Regions from separate parts of the Homo sapiens genome. Here regions 1 and 2 are each linked to region 3. The links are contacts of gene promoters, found by promoter capture Hi-C in blood cells and fetal thymus (Javierre and others, 2016). All regions are on one chromosome and are shown on one strand. The core of a region is centred on a gene start or on the middle of the fragment in contact, and the rest is flanking DNA. Distances in the headings are between cores, read along the strand shown. Region 1 has its middle 26 kb from the start of CD84. Region 2 overlaps LOC124904438 (a long non-coding RNA gene). Region 3 holds the start of PEX19 (peroxisomal biogenesis factor 19).

Region 1 (2,700 bases), core at 200-2,699, 320 kb before region 3:
CTGAAATGAATTTAGAGAGCCAAGCAAAATACAAAAGTAGAAGAAGCAGTGGGAAGAGCCCTACAGGCACTCCTGGTCCCCCAGGAAGTCCAGGGAAGTCATTTCTGACTTTATCTCACAGGGTTCCTTGGGGAGGGCTGCCAGTGGGATTGGGGAAGGGCCACAGGGAGAAGGAAACTTCCAGCTGAACTTTGTAATAATTTTGACTGAGTACGAATTGTCCTGGTCAGGATCTGTGGAGATGAATAGAAAGTGCAGATATGAGCACAGAAGCCACAGCAGGCAGGGAGGGGTGAGGCCTGAAAGCCCTGCTTGCCTTCTCAGCAGAGAGGCTAGTATCCCAGGGCAACATCCCAGCCCTGCATACCAGAGGCTTGGATATAAATTTGGCTCTTTGGGGAGCATGGCAGGAGTGAGACTGGCCTTGCTGGCTGTGTGGGAGTGGGGAGAGGCCTGTCACCACTGGCTTTCCCCCACTTCCCTGGCTACCTGTACAAAGCAGCAGAGGCAGCCATAATCCCCCTGGGAACATAACTCCATTGGCCTGAGAACCACACCCCCATACCGCACAGTTGCCACAGCAAGCCCTGTCCAAGGATAGTCTGAGCTCAGACATGCTCAACTCTGCCCCCACCTGATGGTCTTTTTCTGCCAGCCCTGGTAGCTGAAGACAAAAGACATAATCTTGTGGGAGCCCTATGGCCCTCCCATCACCTGAGAAACCCAAATACTTATCCAGGTGACCTTAGGGCAAGCTTGTATTCCCCCGTACTGCTGCAGCTGATGCTCTCTTGAAATCGCCACCTTCTGGCTGGAGGCCAATCAAGTCAAGCCATTATAGCAACTCATAACAAAATAGCCCTGCTCCAAGGAAGGAGAAAACAACAGCTAATTCCACCACTTGTAACGTCCTGGCTAACCAGAGGTCCTGAGTCTGTCCATGTGACAACTTCACTGTTAGCATAACCAGCATTTGAGAAAACCTGTGCACTAAACAAAACTACAACCAAGGACTCTCACAGAATCCACTTCACTGCCCTGCTACCTTCACTGGAGTAGGTGCTCGTATCCGTGGTTGAGAGACCTGAAAATAGATCACAACACAGGACTCTTTGCAGACACTCCCCAGTACCAGCCTGGAGCCTGGTAGGTCCACTAGGTGGCTAGACCCAGAAAAGCAATAACAATCACTGCAGTTCAGCTCTTGGGAAGCCCCATCTGTAGGGGAAAGGGGAGAGCACCACATCAAAGGATCACCCTGTGGGACAAAAGAATCTGAACAGCAGCCCTTGAGTCCTAGACCTTTCCTCTGACATAATTGACCCAAATGAGAAAGAACCAGAAAAACAATTCTGGCAATATAATTAAACAAAGTTCTATCACACCACCAAAAGATCACACTAGCTCACCAGTAATGGATTCAAACCAAGAAGAAATCTCTGAATTGCCAGAAAAAGAATTCAGAAGGTTGATTATTAAGCTACTCAAGTAGGCACCAGAGAAAGGTGAAAACCAACTTAAAGAAATTTTTAAAATAATACAAGATATGGACAAAAACACTGTAAAGAAATAGATATTATAAATAAAAAACAATAAGAACTTCTGGAAATAAAAGACATGCTTAGAGAAATGCAAAATACACTGAAAAGTTTTAACAATAGAATGGAACAAGTAGAAGAAAGAACCTCAGAGCTCAAAGACAATGCTATTGAATTAATCCAATCTAACACAGACAAAGAAAAAAGTTTTTTTTAATGAACAAAGCCTCCAGCCAATTTGGGATTATGTTAAATGACCAAACCTAAGAATAATTTGTGTTCCTGAGGAACTCAAAGAACACCCAGGAAATTCATTGCAAAAAGATAATTACCTAAACACACAGGTTTAGGTAATCTAAACCATCAGGTTATCTAAAGTCAAGATGAAGGAATGAATCTTAAGAGCTGTGAGGCAAAAGCATCAGGTATCCTATAAAGGAAAACCTATAAGATTAACAGCAGATTCCTCAGCAGAAATCCTACAAGCTAGAAGGGATTGGGGTCCTATCTTTCATATCCTTAAACTAAGTAATTATCCTTACTTTAGCCTCCTTAAAAGAATAATTATCAGCCAAGAATTTTGTATCTGGCAAAACTAAGCTTCATATATGAAGGGAAGATAAAGTCTTTTTCAGACAAGCAAATGCTGAATGTATCACTACCAAGAGAATTTGCCACTACAAAGTCAGCACTATAAGAACTGCTAAAAGGAATTCTAAATCTTGAAACAAAACCTCAAAATACACCAAAATAGAACCTTCTTAAAACATAAATCTCACAGGACCTATGAAACAATAACACAATGAAAAAAAAAACCAAGCAATTCAGGCAACAACTAGCACAATGAATAGAATAGTACCTCATATCTCAATACTGACATTAAAAGTAAATGGCCTAAATGCTCCACTTACAAGATCCAGAGTGTCAGAATGAATAAGAATTCACCAACCAAGTATCTGCTGTCTTTAAGAGACTTGCCTAACACATAAGGACTAACATAAACTTAAGGTAAAGGGGTGGAAAAATATATTGCATTCAAATGGACACAAAACTGAGCAGGAGTAACTATTCTTATATCAGACCAAACAGACTTTAAAGCAAGAATAGTTTTAAAAGACAAAGAGGGACAATCCATAACAATAAAAGGACTAGTCCAGCAGGA
Region 2 (2,700 bases), core at 39-2,538, 340 kb after region 3:
TTAGGTATACACCAGGAAGACAGAACCAATAAGATAGATAGATACAGATATAGAAATATGAGATGGGATTTATTAGGGGAATTGGCTTACATGATGGTGGAGGCCAAGTCCTACAACATGCACAAAGAAGGCCCTGGGATGGCAAAAGTGTGGCTCAGTCCAACTCCAAAAGCCTCACAACCAGGGAGGCCAATGGTATAACTCACAGTCCCAAGTCTGGAGAGCCTGGAGTTTTGATGTTCAAAGGCAAGAGGAGGAGAATACCCCAGCTCTGAGAGACAGAGAGAGAGACAGAGAGAGAAAAGAAGAAGAAGGAGAAGGAGGAGGAGGAGGAGGAGGAGGAGGAGGAAAAGCAGCAGCAGAGGAGGAGGAGGAGAAGGAGGAGGAGGAGGAAAGAGGAAAGAAGAAAGCAGGAGAAGGAGAAGAAGGAGGAAGAAGAGGAGGAGGAGGAGGAGGGGGAGAGAGAGAATATTTTCTGATATCCTTGTCAGCAATTTGAAAATATGGGGGCTGCCTGATACTTAGGTTAGGTGGAATCCTCGTTGGTTGAATAAGCTTTCCCAGAGAGTAATGACTATGAATCAAGGACAACCTAGAGGAAAGTCTTTTGTTTTGAACCTCAGGGACTATTTTTTAAATCAGCTTTCACTCCTGGCACAGTGAGGGAACAAGTTATAGGGCTAGGTTCCTTTTCTTAACAAAAAATCTCCAATATACATATAAATCAGACAAAAAATGGCAATAACAATAAAAGTCACAAAATAAGTTTCCAGAAAAAAAAGGCCATATCATAAACTTTTAAAAATTGAAAACCATTTTAAATGTCATTTAACAGAAAGTTATTTTAATGTCTAAATGAGATTAGTTTATCCTCAAGAAACCACTGGAGACAGCAGTTTAGATCAAAGGTGTGGCCAATTCTAACAGCGGGGAGGGAGATCCTTCCCAATGATTGGTAAAGATCCAAAGACTAAAAAACACTTGGCTCGGCCGGGGGCAGTGGCTCACACCTGTAATCCCAGCATTTTGGGAGGCCGAGGTGGGTGGATCATGAGGTCAGGAGTTCAAGACCAGCCTGGTCAAGATGGTGAAACCCCATCTCTACTAAAAATACAAAAATTAGCCAGGCATGGTGGTGGCCGCCTGTAATCACAGCTGCTTGGGAGGCTGAAGCAGGAGAATCGCTTGAACCCGGGAGGTGGAGGTTGCAGTGAGCCGAGATTGCACCACTGCACTCCAGCCTGGGCGATAGAGTGAGACTCTGTCAAAACAAAAAAACAAACAAACAAAAAACCCGCTTCACTCTTTTACCATTTCTTCTAGCCTTGCTTCCATGCTGCATTCATTAACATGTTTCCATTATAGTCTTATCAATAGATCAGGGTATTATGTTGAAATGCATTGTTGAAAAGCTGCTACTTTGGGACTATTTGCAGGAGGGATGGTGGGAGAGACTGGCCCACTGCTCCTGCCTCTTCCCTTCCATCTCAGTCACCCAAAAGCACTAAAACCTTTACACCTGGAAGAACTGTCCAGCAGGCAGAGCTTACTAAGGATGGAATGGGTACAACAGTAGTGCTGAGCTTCCTGGCCCAGGATGTAATGAGATAGGGGCTTGGATGACTACATGGAGAAATGATGTGCCAGGGATTCTGGGGCCAAGTAGTGCTTAGGCCCATCCTGGAGGTTCTCTCATGATGCTGCAGCAGTGATTCTGTGAGTCTGATGCCTGGTGCACTCAGTTTGAGTCTTAGTACTTCGGATTGGGATGAGATCAGCACGTTGCTTTCATGGAAGGCTTCCAAGGGAGCCAACTGAATGGGAAGGACCTGGACAGGCAATGTTGCTTAAGCCGACCCAGCATCCCTACAGCATCACCAGGCTGAGGAGGTGGAATCTCTGAGGGGCAAGATATGCAAGATATCTTTGTGTCTGAGGGCGAAGCCTCCAAGGGAGTAGGTTTGATGAAGTTTGGGTTGGGTCTCAATCCAGCTCTGCCATAACCTAGTTGGGAAAGCTTGGGCCAAGTTACTTCATCTCCCTGAGCCTCAGTTTTCTCATTAGTCAAAGGGAGCTCTACTTACTTCGCAGGGTTTCTGTGAAGGTTACACAAGAGTTATAAAGCATCTAGTCCAGGGTCTGGCACCCTGCATGGGTCCAGTAAGTGATCTTGTATTTCATTCCTCCCTTTCAATCTCCCGTGTCAGGATATCTGTCGTTTCTCCCCTCTGGGCCTGTTTCTCTGGGTCGTTGGTGCCAGAGCTGCCTTGGGAGCTGACTTGGCAACCCCACGCTCAGAGCACAGCCTTCCTCAGCTGCACACGGTGGGAGGCGCCTGGGCAAGATTTGGGAGCTCGCCAATGCAGACAGGTATTTCCAGTCCTGCTAGAGAAGCAATGGGTGGAGGTAGAAATGGGGATGGGGGAGGAGATCGGATGAGCCCGGGACCTGGGTGGATCCCCTGGGAGGAGGGCGGGGAGTCATGCTCCCCGCCTGGTTCTCCTACCCCCAGGCTCAGATTTCAACCCTCGCTGCCGCCTCTGTGGCGCGCCCGTTCGGGGAGCGGAGAGGGTCGCCCGTAGGTTCCGAAAGAAGGACGGCGTACCAGTAGCCTGGCAAGGGGCCAGCTCCCGCAGCCCTGGAGCGCGAGCCGGACCCTGCTGCCCCTCTTGCTGGCGGCGGGAAGCGGCCCACCGGCCT
Region 3 (2,700 bases), core at 19-2,518:
AGAACAATTCCAAAGGAGGAAAGGGACGTCTAGAGTTACCTCTATCTGAGCATTCCCCGTGTTCACTCAGTTGGAGGTTGGGTTCTGTGTGGAGAAAAGGAGATTGTTCAGGGAAAGTAAGTCTATTACTACTGCATTCGAATTGCCCTGCTCAGTCCAAGGTACCAGAGGCTCTCTTAATAACATGGAGTTCTAAGTTCCTGGCCGGCCCTGTGTCCTTTAATCAAACAGTTCTAATAGATAATAGGAAATGAGAGATGCCACTAGATTGGGCAGACAGATGTGCCTGATTAGGGACTGCGAGAGCAAAGAGTGGCCAATGAATGCCTACTAAGTTTTAAACCCTAGCCTGGGAGTTGGGCTTTACAGCAGTGAAGACAACAGACGAAAATCTTTGCGTTCATGGTGTTTAAATTCTGCAGGGTGGGGAGCGGAGAATAAAAAAGTACGGTAGATAGTATGTCAGATACTGTTCAGTGTTAGGAAGAAAAGGAACGGGAATGGCCAAGGAAAGCGTTTCAGAAAAGATAATATTTGAGGGAAACAATGAAGTGAAGCCGGGCGCAGTGGCTCACGCCTGTAATCCCAGCACTTCGGGAGGCCGAGGTGGGCGGATCAGCTGAGGTCCGGAGTTCGAGACCAGCCTGGCCAACCAGCCTGGCCAACATGTTAAAACCCCGTCTCTACAAAAATTAGTCGGACGTGGTGTCGCGCGCCTGTCATCCCAGCTACACGGGAGGCTGAGGCAGGAAGAATCGCTTGAACCCGGGAGGCCAAGGCTGCAGTGAGCCGAGATGGCGCCACTGCATTCCAGCGTAGGCGACAGAGCAAGATTCCTTCTCAAAAAAAAATAAAAAAAAAAAAATGAAGTGAGAGAAAGTAGTATGTTATGTGCCATAATTGTCATATCAATTATATATGTTTAGATTCTGGTTATTTGTAGGCAGTTTGTCTCAATCTGGCCTACTCACAGCTCAGGAAAAAATAATGAAAGAGCTTCGCCAGGTAATTTGGGAAGTTGAAAGAAAGGAGTCCGGGCCTCTAAAACCAGACAGAAAATAACCCTATCTTATCCCTAATTCTGTTTCACAGGAGAAAAGGGAAAAATACCCAAAACACAAACACTCAAAGCTTCCTGGCCCTTTAAAAATGGCGGTTCCGCACTGGTCAACAATACCATTGGTTACCCGAGGCAGAAGAGGGCGGGAGCGAAGGGGTGGAGGGCGTGTCGGCACCGAGGAGGTCCCGCCTCCTACGGCAAGTCGGAGGTAGCAAGATGGCCGCCGCTGAGGAAGGCTGTAGTGTCGGGGCCGAAGCGGACAGGGAATTGGAGGAGCTTCTGGAAAGTAAGAGCCCATAGTGGGAAAGGCCCGAAGAGGGCACGTGTGAGGACCCATTCTGGGGGTTAAGTGAACCTGAGATATTAGGGACGGGCAGGAGAGGCTCTCCAAAGGTTAAATGGGGGCGGAGAGTCTGACCCCCGAGCCCCCCAAAAATCTCTGGGTCATCCTGCCCCACCCCGGCGACTGGAGCTGGGGAGCTCACCTGGGGTCCCTCAGTGGTCCGGATGGTGGATGTTTCCGCAGGACGGCGTTTCATGATACCTCTTCAAACTCCTCTTTAGGTTACTGAGTTCTTAAAGTTCGACTTCAGCAGCAGTAGCAGCAGCAGCAGCATTTGGTTCTTGCTGGGTAGCGAACTACGCACTCACTGATTGCTTACATTAACTCCTAGCAAGCTCGTGGCCGGTCCTTGTGTGCCTCGTCCTGTCTTCCTTAACACGAAAGACACTTTTCTCCTCCTAGTCCTTTTCTCTTTCTCTCGTTAGGCCCCTTAACAGTTCTTTCATCTTGTCAGTAGCTCAAGCGGACTCCTTTCCCTTATTTTGAGAAACTGAGGATGTGGCGATTTCAGGGGAAAGCAGTTCACCCTCCTGAAAGACGGGGGATGTTTTCTTAGCATTACTCTCCACTCCCCTGTTGACTTCCTGCCCAGAGTAGGGCCAGTGCTCTCTCCCTAGGCCTGGCGAACAGAATGGTGGTGAGGACACAGGCTTTTCAGGGCAGAGGTGAATTTGTAATCGCTTGCTCAATCACGGAGATGTGGGCAGGCAGAAAAATGAACAGAAACCCTGAGGAGTGCCAAGTGACTGTGTAAATTAGTGTACGGTTATCTGCAGAGATCAGGCCAAAGGGAGCTCTAGAAGGTTGTTGGGGAGCACTAAACTGGAGAATAAGAGAAGATAGTTTAATGCCGTACCATGGAGTCTGGTATGTAGTCCCTCAGTCTGTGCTGGTACCAGTACCAACAGGAAGCTGGGTGGGATGTCCTGTGCTTTCTCACCAAGTTATTCCTTTTAGAGCTCCAGAGTGAGTTCAGAGGGATGAGGACATCTGTGTTCTCTACTACTGTTGGGTATTTGTATGGGATTTCTAGGGAATCGTTAGGGTGTGGCAAGGGAGACACTATAGATGGAGATGTCTCTGCAGAACTTTTTAATCCTCTCCTCCCAGCTCTGAGATGGACATTTGTTCCACCTTAAGGGATTTCTTTGCCTTTGCTCACAATAAATTAGGTAATCCAGAAGGAAGTAGGAGGCTCATTGAGGGTGGTCTGGGGAGGTGGGGGACTCAAGGAGGAAAATTGAGGAAAGTTGGCAATTTGAAAAATCATATTCCTAATGCTTTGCCCAGAAACCAC

The links. Contacts are between HindIII fragments. The CHiCAGO score rates a contact against its expected background, and 5 or more counts as called.
Region 1: a fragment that was not itself captured here is called in contact with the fragment with the promoter of PEX19 in region 3 in 1 of 17 cell types (fetal thymus); the score reaches 6.6 in fetal thymus.
Region 2: a fragment that was not itself captured here is called in contact with the fragment with the promoter of PEX19 in region 3 in 1 of 17 cell types (erythroblasts); the score reaches 5.2 in erythroblasts.

The regions. Positions count from the first base shown.
Region 1 is chr1:160,603,917-160,606,616 of GRCh38, reverse strand. No RefSeq gene overlaps it. Among named protein-coding and RNA genes, the nearest start is that of CD84, 26 kb to the right of the region's middle. The HindIII fragment of the contact is 1,383 bases long and covers 758-2,140 here.
Region 2 is chr1:159,945,837-159,948,536 of GRCh38, reverse strand. It overlaps LOC124904438 (a long non-coding RNA gene), which reads right to left. Exons shown (of 3, transcript XR_007066684.1): 2 at 2,085-2,385. Among named protein-coding and RNA genes, the nearest start is that of IGSF9, 1.6 kb to the right of the region's middle. RefSeq lists an enhancer at 2,301-2,700 and a silencer at 2,644-2,700. The HindIII fragment of the contact is 1,462 bases long and covers 558-2,019 here.
Region 3 is chr1:160,283,701-160,286,400 of GRCh38, reverse strand. PEX19 (peroxisomal biogenesis factor 19) reads left to right here and starts at 1,268. Exons shown (of 8, transcript NM_002857.4): 1 at 1,268-1,346. The coding sequence starts at 1,277. It overlaps LOC107985219 (a long non-coding RNA gene), which reads right to left and starts at 2,036. Exons shown (of 3, transcript XR_001738265.2): 1 at 1,546-2,036; 2 at 40-84. The HindIII fragment of the contact is 4,290 bases long and covers 1,134-2,700 here.